Regions from separate parts of the Homo sapiens genome. Here all the other regions are linked to region 1. The links are contacts of gene promoters, found by promoter capture Hi-C in human tissues and cell types (Jung and others, 2019). All regions are on one chromosome and are shown on one strand. The core of a region is centred on a gene start or on the middle of the fragment in contact, and the rest is flanking DNA. Distances in the headings are between cores, read along the strand shown.

Region 1 (4,352 bases), core at 1,366-3,865:
GGGTAGGGTAGGATCGAGTTGGTTAGGGTAAGCCTGAGTAAGGTGTGAACTATGGAAAGATACACGAAGCTGCAGGCACCTGGGAGCAAGGGAAAGGAAGAAGAGTCTAGGCAAGTAATGAAAACAAAAGCAAGATGGGGTGGCTCTAACAGCTCATTATTACAACTTTGAAACACAACGTAATGGTTAAGAGAACTAAAGCCAGACTATGTCCAAATCCTGATTCACCCTAGCTGTATGACTTTAAGCCAGTTACTTAACCACATAGGACGCGCACGCGCACACACACACACGCACGCACACCCACGTGCACACACCACTTAAAACAGTGCTTGATACACAGTTAGGGGTATACCTGTGTTTGCTATTACCAGTAGAGATGGTGATACAAATGTACTGTTTCCCTCTATATAAACCATTGGACTAAAGTGCTTAGGGATCAAAGAAACATTATAACATTTCTGCCCTGATGGAGCTTAGTTTTGTAGAGAAAGCACAGGGAGCAAAAAAATGGAGCCAAATGAGTGATCTAAATCAGGGATTGGCAAACTACAACACACGGGCCTCTAGCTAAAAATAGTTTTTCACATTTTTAAAGAGTTGTAAGGTCGGGCGTGGTGGCTCACACTTGTAATCCCAGCACTTTGGGGGGCAGAGGTGGGCGAATCACCTAAGGTCAGGAGTTCGGGACCAGGCTGGCTAACATGGTGAAACCCCGTCTCTACTAAAAATACAAAAAATTAGCCCGGCGTGGTGGTGTGCGCTTGTAATCCCAGCTACTCGGGAGCCTGAGGCAGGAGAATCACTTGAACCCGGGAGGAGGCTGCAGTGAGCCAAGATCGCGCCACTGCACTCCAGCCTGGACAACAAGAGCAAAACTGTCTCAAAAAAAAAAAAAAGTTGTAAACAAAACAAAACAAAAGAAACAATATATAACAGAGACCAAAGTGATCCTGCAAATCCTGAACTATTTACTGTCTGGACCTTTAACAACAACAACAAAATTTACCACTTCTGACCTAAATAATAAGTGTTACACGCAGTTAGGTGTTGAAGAAAGCATTACATGGGCAGGAGGCAGGCTCTGAACTGTAAAAACCTTGTAAGATTATCAAGAATCCTTTTTGCAATTTATTCAGAAGTGGTCAGGTCATCCAGTTTCTGCTTAAAGTGCTCACATGATGAGCACTCACTATGCAACTTGAGCTTTAAACAGAAACCTCTCTACTCTGTCTCTATACTCATTTCAGTCTTAACTTCGATGCCCCTTGTTTCCTGTCCTGCAGAGCTGTCAGTCTGGCGAGTAGTGAGACTCAGACTTATGTCTGAATGCTAGGTCTGTCACAGACTAGAAAATGTATATATTCTGAGCTTCCCAAACTTCATCTAGAAAATGCAAATGATAATAATTTGGGGAATGTGAGGACTAAACAAAAAGGTATGAAGGTGACCAGAGCACAGCAGGCTCTCAATGTGACTTCCTTTTGAAATCAATCACTTTATTCCAGGACTCCAGCCCATCATTCCAGCACAAAAACAGCTACCATGCAATGAAGAACTCTTCACTAGGAGTTAGTAGACTTAGGCTCCAGTCTTATTTCTACTACATATGGCCATGGGTAAAATCACTCTCTCTGATTCGTAGGCAGTTTCTTCACCGCTTAAGTGAGCTGAGGTGTGAACGACCAGATAGATAATCATCCAGATCGGAAAACCCCCGAGAGCGCAGGATTATCTGGATAACGGAGCCGGATGGAGGATTGTCTCCGTTCCTCCCACACTCAAGCCCCGAAAGGTCACCTGACCTAGTCTTATTCTTTACAGCAGAAATCGGGCAAACCCATGGCGCCGTCCACAATCTCTATAGCCGCCGACCTGGGTACAGGGGAAGCAGGCGAAACAACACACACTTCTACGCAGACCAGGGTTACATTAAGGCCGACGCCCACACACGCCCACACACACCCACACACACACACACACCCCCACACCCCCAGACTTCGTTAACTTGTGATGATAAATTAGGGCGCAGGTGACACTACTGTCCCGAACTTCAGCTGGAACGCTAGTCCAAGTCACTGTCCTAACTGCAGCTAGCACTGCCGACCTTGTCCGAGGAGTTTCCTTCCGCTCCCTCAACTCCCACTTTCCCAGGGAGGGGAGGGGGCCGGGGGCACCGGCGACAGTTGCGGGGAAGGAAGTGGAATCTCGCCTTTGGGAAAGCCCGGGCGGAGAGCTGAGGGCTCGCCGTCTCACCTTGGCTGACGTCCGCGAGGACTCCCTCTCGGAGCAAGGTTCAGGTCCAAGTACCAAGGCTCTGCGGGACCAAGGGGCGGGTCCTGCCCAGAAAGGGCCCCTCACCCCGCGGGCGGTCAGGGCCGTTCTTGAGGGCTGCCCTCCGGCCGCCTGACTGGAAAACCAGGCACTCCACCCCCTCCTCTCCGGGCCCCCGTCCTCCCCCGGAGAATACGACCTTTCGGCCATGTTAGCCAGGAGCGAGGGGCAGGGCTAAGGGGCCGGCGGCCACTCGGCATCTGGGTTTTAGTCAGGCAGTGCTCCAGGCGCCTGGCTGCCAGGCTACGGGAGAAAAGTCCTCCGCTCGGCCGCACCCGTTAGAGGCGCTCTCCACTGCTGTCCTCTTCAGCTCAAGATGGTGGCCTGCCGGGCGATTGGCATCCTCAGCCGCTTTTCTGCCTTCAGGATCCTCCGCTCCCGAGGTGAGGCCTGGCCGAGGGCATCCCAGACCTCCGGGCAGAACTCCTGCCGGGACTGGGGTGGCCCCGGAGCCGCGTCTCCCTTTCGCTGCCGCCTGCCCCAGCCCGGAGACGCAGCCCTCTGTGGGGATACTGCCCTGGGACCCGGTTTCCCGTGACCTTCTGAAGAGACTGTCACTTCCCCTCTCACGACTCCTGCGGCGATTTCAGGCTTCCTAACTCCCCAACTTTCTGAGTCTGGTGCCACTCGTTCTGTCACCTTTCCGCGGGTCTCTTGCGTCGCACTTCTGGGCTCACGCCCCTCATATTTTCTTGATCCGGAGTTCCAGGAGAATCGGGATCCATTCTGTCGCATCTTTGTGGCTCCACAGCACCTTGCCCCGCAACAAGAGCTGTCTTAAAAACAGCACCTTACCCCGCAACAAGCGCTGTCTTGTATGGGATTAATCAGCCTTGCAGATCACTGCCCCTCCCTGCTCCGTTCCCTCAAAACCATTTTTGTGCTTACTACCCCAATCAAGTAGGGAGCTCAACTCTTGCAGTTTCAGTAATGTCAGTGTGAACGTATAGTATTTTGAATTTCAGCGGGAAGTTCTGCAACTTACTGGAAGACACACTTTAAAAATACGCTAATACCTCTACCTTAAGCAATAAAATGTTAGATCGTTCTGAGAACGATTTGTAATCTGATGATTCCCAGTCAGCCTGTATTAGCTAGTGTTTTTCCTTTTCAAACTGGCAGTGAAAGGGTTAAAGTGGGTGGTTGTAGGAAACGTTGCATTTTCTTTCCATCCCAAATCTGTAAAGTCAAAAGTGGACAACGTTTTATTGCATGTTGTGCTTAATAAGTTACTTAACTAGAAATTTTAACTTTTAATTTAATTTGTAATATGAATTACCTCTCTTCCCTCTTCCGGAACCGCTGAAGTAGTATGCTTTTTTTAGACAAGTAGCTGAAATCCCTTACTGTAAGGGGATTTTTTTAATGATTGAATATTTTTCTGCTCCCTTTTTTCAACAGCTGTTTTTAGTCTCCACAAAACTGTAGCATGTATTTGCCAATTATAACATAAGCACATTATAGAACATTGAAATGCTGTAAGGATTGAGGAAAGAGATGAAAAAAAAACGAATCACCCATTGTCTTACTACTCATATGCTTACCTACGGTTAGCCTTCGGTTATGTTTCCTTACAGGTTTGGTGGTTTTTTTCCCCTATTTTCACAACACTTTTGAAAAGTAACGTGTAATTTTTATCTTACCCCTGCATTGGTTTGAAGGTATTTCTTATGGATCGGCAGCTGATGTCACTCGGAAGTGGTAGCCAGGGCACGTGGTTCTAGTCACTAGCTGTGTTACTTTGGACAAATGCCTTAAACTAAATGGGCTTTATTTTCCTCATCTGCAAAATGAATGATTGAGATGATGGATTTCCTTTGCATGAGAAGTAGCATGACAGAGCAATTAATAAACATTGTTTGGGCCGGGTGCGGTGGCTCACGCCTGTAATCCCAGCACTTTGGGAGGCCCAGGCGGGCGGATCACGAGGTCGGGAGATCGAGACCATCCTGGCTAACACGGTGAAACCCCGTCTCTACTAAAAATACAAGAAATTAGCCGGACGTGTTGGTGGGCGC
Region 2 (4,352 bases), core at 482-2,981, 58 kb before region 1:
ACTCATAATAGTGCTGTCTGTCCTGTAGACCAAAAAGGTAGCTCTGGCTTTAAGATAGTAAAATTTAAAGGATTGCATGTTCTTGCCTTACAATTTGGTTTGGTTGACATACTACTTAGCAGAGCAATCCTTCCTGAATATAAGTGTTGGAGATGTGTTAGTGTAGACCACCGAATGTTACAGTCTGGGCATCCGATTTGTAGCTCTCCGTACAGGTGTTTAGGGCTGCTCTTGCTAAGCCTCTCTTGTGTTAAACCATTGCAGACTGTTTCTGGTTGTATGTGTAGGTTTCTAACTTGGTTCCTGTACATTTATAGTAGGTATGGTACAGTAGAGTTTTAACTACGCTATTCCTTACCCAGATAGTATGTACACAGTGTGGACATCCTTCTAGAGATTTCTCCCCTTCTAGTATAGGCAGAAATGGTAACGACAACAGTGTATGTAATAGAAACATGCCTATACTATACATGGGCATGGCAAACCTTCCTCTGGGCATAGACATTTGCAGCATTTGCAATGATAACATAACAGCAGAGCAATCAGTGTTGACAGAATTGTAAGTAGGCTTATAAATTGTATCCACATTTACTTATCCGGATATGGTCCTCTTAGCTTCGACTGTGCGTAGACTAGTCAGCTTCCAGGATGTGACTAGAGCAGAGCTTGCAGGATCCTCAAGCTTCAGCCGTGCATAGACTGACCATCCTCCGGTGTGGTCAGAGCAGGCCAGTTGTCCTTCTTACCGGTGGTTGGGTTTCGCCGTAGGACTATTCAGGTGGGGCGATCTGGGTCTTGTTGGTTAATCCACTGGTTATCATCGGGAGTCTCTGTTGCCACTGGTTTCTGCTGGCTATGGTGAATCCAAGGTGTGACACCTGCAACTTTAACAGCAGTGGAAGCAGACATGATTACAATACGAGACCTATCCTGTATGGGTCCCAGAATGGTTGGATTCCATTATTTTAGCTTAAACAAAATCCTTAGGTTTGAAAGGGTGTACTGGGTCTGTTAGACTTATAGGCATTTTTCTATACCCAGTCATGCATTCTTACATGGCCATACTTAAAGTCTGCATTTGCCTTCTTAAAGTTAGTTCTTCTAGTTTACAGAGATTACCTTTAATCTGTCTTATGATGGGTGGGTGGGTGGCCGGCCGAAAAAAATCTCAGAGGGCGAATACCCAGTTTGTTTGGTGGAGGTGCACCTGACTTGGAGGAGGACCATGGGCAAGACCTGATCCTACTTTTGATGAGTTTTTTTGACACAATTTCTTCAGTAGCTGTTTGAGTGTCTGGTTCATGCGTTCCACCTTCCCTGAACTCTGTGGTCGATAGGCTGTGTGCAGTTTCCATTTGATCTTTAAAAGTTGAGTTAGCTGTTGTACAACTTCTGCCACAAATGCAGGACCGTCGTCTGATCCTAGGGTTAGAGGCGACCCAAACCTTGGTATGATGTCTTTCAGTAGCACCTTTGTCACCTCTTGTGTCTTTTTAGTTCCGGTGGGGAAGGCCTCAACCCACCCCGAGTAGGTGCAAACAAACACTAGCATATACTGGTAACCTCCTGCTCAAGGCAACTCGGTAAAGTCTATAAGCAGGTTCTCACAAGGCACAGCTCCTACTTCCTGAATTCCTGGAGGTTGAGTAGGTCCTCGTTTTGGATTACTCCGGGCACAAGATAGACATTGTTCACAAACAGCACGGGTCATGGCAGACAGCCATGGCACATAGAGATGCCAACCTATCCAAGTCTCTAGAGCTGTCCTTCCAATGTGTGTTCCTTGATGGATCTGCTTCACAAACCTTGGGGCTATTGTCTCTGGGATGGCTAGCCTCCTGTCAGAGCCACCATCCACCTTTAATATATTTTTTTGTTTCCTGACCAAACCAAGCTGTTTCACTTGAAGAGTAATTGGGTACCTCCGGCAAAGGGGGCTCTATAAGGAGAGGCGTTGCTATAGGTCTTTCTTCAGGTAAAGCCTTGCTCATTGATGCCCGCAGAGCCTCTAGGTCTGCCTTTCTGTTGCCCTGTGATTCATAGCTTTTTTCCATTTAGTGTTCTTTGCAATGAATGACAGCCACCTTTTCTGGAGCCTATATGGCTTCTAATAATTGCAAAATTTCCTCTTTATTTTTTTTTTTAATTTTTTTTCCTTTAGTAGTCAAAAGTCCTCTCTCTTTGCATGTTGCCCCATGGGCATGCAGGGTTGCAAAAGCATATCTTGAATCAGTATATATATTTACTTTCTTCCCCTTGTCCAATAACAGTGATCCGGTTAATGCTATTAATTCAGCCTTCTGAGCAGAAGTCCCAGAAGGTAAGGCTTGAGCCTCAACTGCTGAGTGTTGGGTCACTACGGCATACCCTGCATATCGTACCCCATCTGTTATGAAACTGCTACCATCAGTGAAGTATTCAACATCTGGGCTCTCCAAGGAGGATATCTCTGAGATCTTCCTGGCTCGAGAACACTTCATCCACCGTATTTAGGCAACAGTGGAGAAGGTCCTGCCAGCAGCGAGGCAACCTACCGTCCTTCCAGTCGGGTTCCTCCACAGGCAGCAGGGGAACTGGGTTCAAGGTATTTACAGTCTCCAGTGTTATCTGGGGATTTTTACACAGAAGCCCTTGATACTTTAGCATTCTAGAGTTGGACAGCCAATGATGTCCTCTTTGCTCCATTAAGGTGACTACAGCATGTGGCACCCGAACTATTAACTTCTGACCTAGGGCTAGCTTGTTGGCATCTTTTAGAAGGATTGCAGTAGCTGCCAACGCCCTGAGGCAGTGGGGCCAACCTAAGGCCACCAAGTCCAGTCTCTTGGATAAGTGTGTTACCGGCCGATGCTAAGAGCCCAGCTGAGTTACGACTCCGACTGCCATTCCCTTTCGTTTATTCACATACAAAAAAAGGGCTTTTTAATATCTGGCAACCTTAGCGCCGGGGCTTGGATGAGAGCTTCGTTTATATCTTTGAAGGCCTTTTCCTATTCCTTTTCCCATAGGAGGGGCTCTCTTTCTTTTCCTTTGGTAGCCTCATATAAGGGCTTTGCTATAAGGGAGAAGTTTGGAATCCAGATTCGGCAGAATCCCGCCGCACCTAGAAATTCCCTGACCTGTGGGTGGGCAATGCACCTACAGCCTCCTTGCGTGCACTTCCAAGCCTGCACTGGCCTTGGGATACCATGAATCTTAGCTATCCAACCTGCTGAAAAAAGACTTTTGCCTTGTCCTTGGACACTTTGTAAACTGGCCTGTATTCACCATTTGGCTTCTGCACAGGCAGCAGAGGAGTATTCCAGGAGGACTTGCATTTCAGTATAATCCTATGTTCACAGAGCCGATTTAAATGTTTCGTTATGCCATCAATTGCCTCTCTGGGTAGTGGGTATTGACGGACTTGTACCGGGGAACATAAGGGCTAAGCTCTACTACGACCGGGGGTCTGTTTGCAGCAAGTCCAGGGAGGTTGTGCTCGGTCCATACACCTGGTACCTTGAAAAGCATTCCCCGCATATTGTGTAGGTCCGCCTCCAGTGGCCTTCTGGCACACAGTTTATAGAGCCGCCATTTCTCAGTTCTTGAGACAGTTATAGTCAAAACCATTGCCTTAAACTTTCTAAACTCTAGTGTCATATTCTCTTTAGGTGTAAAGGAGATTTGTGCCTGCAGTTTCTGGAGTAAGTCTCTTTTCAACAAGGGCACTGGATAATTTGGCATATATAGAAACTCATGCTGCACTTTTTGTCCCCCAATAATACATCTCCTGGATTTGCAAAAAGGCCTCTTTTCTTTGGCGCCAGTAGCCCCTACGATAGTAGCACAGTTCTTTGTGGGGGGACTAATTGGTGAGTTACCACAGAGAAATCAGCACCAGTATCGACCAAAAAATCCATTAATTGGCCCCCTACTTCCATAGAGACTATAGGCTCCCCGGGGCCTAAAAGGATGGAGCCCGGTCTATCAGTCCTCTAAATTCTCAGCCCCCGCTAAGCCGATCAGATCAGGATCTGCCTTTGAAGCATGACAACTAGCAACCGAACGCTGCACTCGGGTGTTAGACCATTGACCATTTTCCTTATTCTTTTGACATTTATCCTTCTAGTGTCCTTTCCTTTTGCACTGTCCGCATTAATCTCTCTCTAGCCTCGGCCGGCTTTCAAACTCCTGTCCAGACTAGCCTTTTCCACGACTGTGTTCACGCCCACGTCCCTGCCTCCTTGCAAAGCCAGCTTCTCTTCCTGTAAGGGCTGCTGCTAGTAAATTAGCCTTTCTTAAGCCTCCGATCAGCTTTCTTTTTTGCCTCTTGATCTCAGTTAATGTACACCTTGGTAGCCACCTTAATAAGC
Region 3 (4,352 bases), core at 716-3,215, 51 kb after region 1:
TATAAATTAATGAATTAGACTTCTTTCACCACAGTTCTGTTGGGAAGACTATGTAACTGTTAGCTCAATGAGGGGTTTCTCTGAAACCTTAGCACGCATCAGAATCACCAGGAGGGATTATTAAAACAAATCTGGGCCCCACCCATGGAGTTTCTGATTCAGTAGGGCTGGGCTAGGCCTGAGAATGTGCAGGCCTAACGCTCCCAGGTGATGACAGTGCTTGTTGGGTCCGGGTACTACACTTGGAGAACTGCTGGTTTAATGAGTCTTAAGTGCATCTGACTGTTGAGGAGTGTTAGTTAAACCTAGTATCCTGGTGGTGAGACCCATCTGTGTAAAATGCAAATACTTCTCTGACAGCCCAACACATTAATTCTTCTGCCTGCCCCACCCCCGCCCAAAAAAACTGGATCCTCTTATCTAAACCATCAGTATCATTAATATAAGTGGAACCTTCATCCGTCGTTCCCCAATAAATCTAGTTTGGCCTCGAGCTGTGGTTTTGGCACTGATTGTTGGGAGGATCAGATGTCTGTAGTGAAAAACCTTAGAAGCAAATGGAAGAGGAGGATTCCAATGTGCTCTCCCTAAACATACTAAACTTTTATCAAAGACCCATGGAACCAAACCACTCAGCTATGTCAAGCAGTATTCCTATATCACAGCCACCTTTCTTTCTAGTGTTTTCCTAGCAGAGAAGGAATGCTCTCAGGTTCCTCACCCGCATTCTCCGATCTGTTGGCTTTTGGTTCCCCTTGCCAGGTGATTGGCATGCACTACTTCTCTCCCGTGGACAAGATGCAGCTGCTGGAGATTATCACGACCGAGAAAACTTCCAAAGACACCAGTGCTTCAGCTGTAGCAGTTGGTCTCAAGCAGGGGAAGGTCATCATTGTGGTTAAGGTAAGGGGCTGTATAACAGAGCTGCAGAGTTTTTGAAAAGTTCTAATAAGACTCCTTTTACCTCCAGGCTTGTTTATAAATATTCTGGGGCAAATGACCAGACTTTGATATGATTTTCCCCTGGGTTGTCTCCAGGATGGACGGTGGTATTGACTGTCCCACTGAGTCAAGGTGGGAGTGGGGAGTATCTAGGATGTGGCAGGGTTCTCCCAGCCATCCCAGACCTTGAAGGTGACCATGAAACTATCTGCTGTACTGTTTGATTCAAGCCAGGCTACCCCTAGTACGGCTTCCCCTGCAATTTCATTTTTAAGGATTCTGATTGAGATTTTAAGTCACCTTAAGTTTTACAGTGACTTTCAAATGACTTTGAAGTGACCCTGGGAAAGGTAGAGTGTTTCAGACTCAGTCCCAGCAGCAGGGCCAGGGAGCTCATGTTCTCTTCCTTGGCAGGATGGACCTGGCTTCTATACTACCAGGTGTCTTGCGCCCATGATGTCTGAAGTCATCCGAATCCTCCAGGTTGGTATTGCTCTCCAGAGTGTTTGCGGCATCTTCCACTCCTTCAGTCACTCTAAAACTCATGATGTCAAGATAAGGACCAAGCTTCCTTCTGATACACCAACTCCTGCTCTTGTCTAGGAAGGTCCCTGGTGCCCTCTCTCTGCACAGCAGTCGGAAGTTGGGCTTATACTGCACTGAAAGGGGCAGAGCTTTCCCTCTGCCCCACAGCCTCCTCACTGTTCCAGCAAGCTAAAGGCACCCCACCCCCCAGCATGTCTTCTATGCTGTTTCTGCACCTCTCTGAGGCAGGGACCATCCAGAACAGGGCCCGCTTGGTTCAACTGGTGCTGCATCTGTTTCCACAGCACACAGACCTCTCCAGTAGCCATCGAGGTCATTCTGGCAGGAAAGGAGAGGGATCCTCCTCGCTGGGCACTTACCCAGACTTGGGGATCACAGGGCTCTGAGTGCTCCTCTTTGATGATGTTTCTTCTGTTGGTCATGACACACTCAGCCGTCTGTCATGCAATCTCCTTATTATTGAGATTCAGAAATGCAAACAAGAAGAAAATGAAGAATTTAGTCATCTCTAAACGTCCTTAAAGTGCTGTAGATTAGAGAAGGCTCAGACTTTCCACTTGTGGCCCCAAACTTCTTTGTGCTTCCCTGAATGAAATAGCACCAGTCCTGGGCCTGGTCAGGTGACACTCAGAAGTGGGTTTTACACAAGGCAGTGTTTGGAGCCAGTACAGGGAGCCCTTTGGGGGGATTTGGGCTGCCCTTCCCCTGAGGTCCCTGCATCGCTTCCTGTTCAGGAAGGAGTTGACCCGAAGAAGCTGGATTCCCTGACCACAAGCTTTGGCTTTCCTGTGGGTGCCGCCACACTGGTGGATGAAGTTGGTGTGGATGTAGCGAAACATGTGGCGGAAGATCTGGGCAAAGTCTTTGGGGAGCGGTTTGGAGGTGGAAACCCAGAACTGCTGACACAGATGGTGTCCAAGGGCTTCCTAGGTGAGTAGCCTCAAGGAAACATAACTAGCACCATTAGTTACAAAGTTCTAAGCAGTTCCTGAGACCAAAGAGTTACAGAAGCCCTCGTGGAAGAAAGTTTTCTAAACACAGAGCCCTTATCACTGGCGATTTCAAAAATGATTTTATGAGTCAGGTGCGGTAGCAACCACTTATGGTCTTAGCTGCTTAGGAGGCTGAGGTGGGAGGATCGCTTGAGCCCAGAAGTGTGAGGCCAGCCTGGGCAACATGGCGAGGCCCCTTCTCAAAAAAAAAAAAAAAAAAAGATGTCATGTGAACCTTCTAAGGGCTAGGACTATAGATTATGGACAAAAGGCAGAGTTCTACCCTTCTGGGGCTCTAGCATCACCTGGTCCAAGTTATGCCAGATGGACAAGCATTTTTATCCCCCAGAGATGAAATCTGCAATAGTGCAGAAGCAAGCTCTGCATCCGGGCTTTACCATGCTGTCTGGCCACCTGTGAGGAGAATGTATAAGCTCACCATACACAGTATACAGTTGAGGCCCACAGAGAAGTGACTTTCTGTCTTGGCAAAACAGCAAAATCAGCATTACAACCTGGGTGTTCTAGGACCCGGTGCTGCATATGGGGATGTTAAAACTCACCCAGGTGGCCTTTCTCATCCATGTACACAGATGCCCAAGCTCCGGGTCACAAGATCTTCTTTCCTTCTCTGCCCACTCTTCTGACAAAGACTAATTTGCTAGGGTTAGCTAGACATACAAATTCAGGAATTCAGAAGAGGCCAGAGCTTTATAATAGACCAACAGAGACAAGAATTCTCAGGTCAGGGTCTTTTTTGTTTGTTTTTTGTTTTTTTTTGAGACAGAGTCTCACACTGTTGCCCAGGCTGGAGTGCAGTGGCATAATCTCGTCTCCACCTCCCGGGTTCAAGCGATCCTCCTGCTTCGCCCAGCTAATTTTTGTATTTTTAGTAGAGATGGGGTTTCACCATGTTGGCCAGGCTGGTCTCAAACTCCTGACCTCAAATGATCCTCCGCCTCGGCCTCCCAAAGTGCTGGGATTACAGGCGTGAGCCACCACGCCTGGCCAGGCCAGGGTTCTGAGAACAAATAGTAACACTCCCTCCCTGAGAACAAATAGTAACACTCCCTTTTCTTGCCTGTTTTAGGTCGTAAATCTGGGAAGGGCTTTTACATCTATCAGGAGGGTGTGAAGAGGAAGGATTTGAATTCTGACATGGATAGTATTTTAGCGAGTCTGAAGCTGCCTCCTAAGTCTGAAGTGTAAGTCCGTTTGAGTGGCTAATGCCTGGAAATTGACTTTCTCTGACAGCCCAAAGCTTCCCAGCCCCTCTTCCATTTTTTTTTTTTTTTAATACTTTAAGTCCTGGGATACATGTGCAGGTTTGTTACATAGGTATACACGTGCCATGGTGCTGTCTTCCATTTTCTTTGTGACCACCATACCTGAACAGGAGGACCACTCCTGATGCTGGCATGGTGCTTTCCAAGTGGAAGGCCCTCGCACGTGCTCCTTGGTCTCTGCCCAGCATCTAGGTGAGAACCAGGCCACGTCTGGTGAAGGCCCTCCCCTGCTCCAGCCTTCTCTGGCAAGTTCCCAGAGAGCCGCTGGAAGGACAGATTCTCCTTGGCCCCTTCACCCTCCCAGATCTTTATTATCATTTGTGAGCAGCTGACTGTTGCTGATGTCAAAGAGATACTGATTATCTTCTCGGCACCAGGCCCTGTTCTAGGTGCTCAGTTTCATGTTAATTAGGGCAAGTTACTCTCCACTTTTTCCATGGGAAAGTTTGGTTCACCCAGGCAGCATCTTCTCTGAGGGCCAGCACCAACCGGCCCACAGAGCTCCCCATGCACCCATCCCGACTTCCATTCTGCATCTGCGGCTCTGGCTTTCCTCCCCTTTTCCTCTTCTTCTACCTAAACATCT

The links. The method cuts DNA at HindIII sites, captures the fragments that hold promoters and counts their contacts. A contact is called where the count stands out against the background at its distance.
Region 2: a fragment that was not itself captured here is called in contact with the fragment with the promoter of HADHA in region 1 in 1 of the 25 tissues and cell types used here (spleen).
Region 3: a contact is called between a fragment that was not itself captured here and the fragment with the promoter of HADHA in region 1, in 3 of the 25 tissues and cell types used here (aorta, dorsolateral prefrontal cortex and spleen).

What each region holds. Positions count from the first base shown.
Region 1 is chr2:26,242,895-26,247,246 of GRCh38, reverse strand. HADHA (hydroxyacyl-CoA dehydrogenase trifunctional multienzyme complex subunit alpha) reads left to right here and starts at 2,615. Exons shown (of 20, transcript NM_000182.5): 1 at 2,615-2,717. The coding sequence starts at 2,651. HADHB (hydroxyacyl-CoA dehydrogenase trifunctional multienzyme complex subunit beta) reads right to left here and starts at 2,308. Exons shown (of 16, transcript NM_000183.3): 1 at 2,257-2,308. RefSeq lists enhancers at 553-1,280, 2,139-2,238, 2,093-2,773, 4,259-4,352. The HindIII fragment of the contact is 15,994 bases long and covers 1-4,352 here.
Region 2 is chr2:26,300,363-26,304,714 of GRCh38, reverse strand. LOC105374334 (a long non-coding RNA gene) reads right to left here. Exons shown (of 4, transcript XR_939853.3): 1 at 593-4,352. Among named protein-coding and RNA genes, the nearest start is that of SELENOI, 44 kb to the left of the region's middle. The HindIII fragment of the contact is 3,170 bases long and covers 147-3,316 here.
Region 3 is chr2:26,191,643-26,195,994 of GRCh38, reverse strand. It overlaps HADHA (hydroxyacyl-CoA dehydrogenase trifunctional multienzyme complex subunit alpha), which reads left to right. Exons shown (of 20, transcript NM_000182.5): 15 at 763-903; 16 at 1,357-1,425; 17 at 2,223-2,418; 18 at 3,571-3,685. It also overlaps a transcript of GAREM2 not described here. Among named protein-coding and RNA genes, the nearest start is that of GAREM2, 21 kb to the right of the region's middle. The HindIII fragment of the contact is 5,401 bases long and covers 1-4,352 here.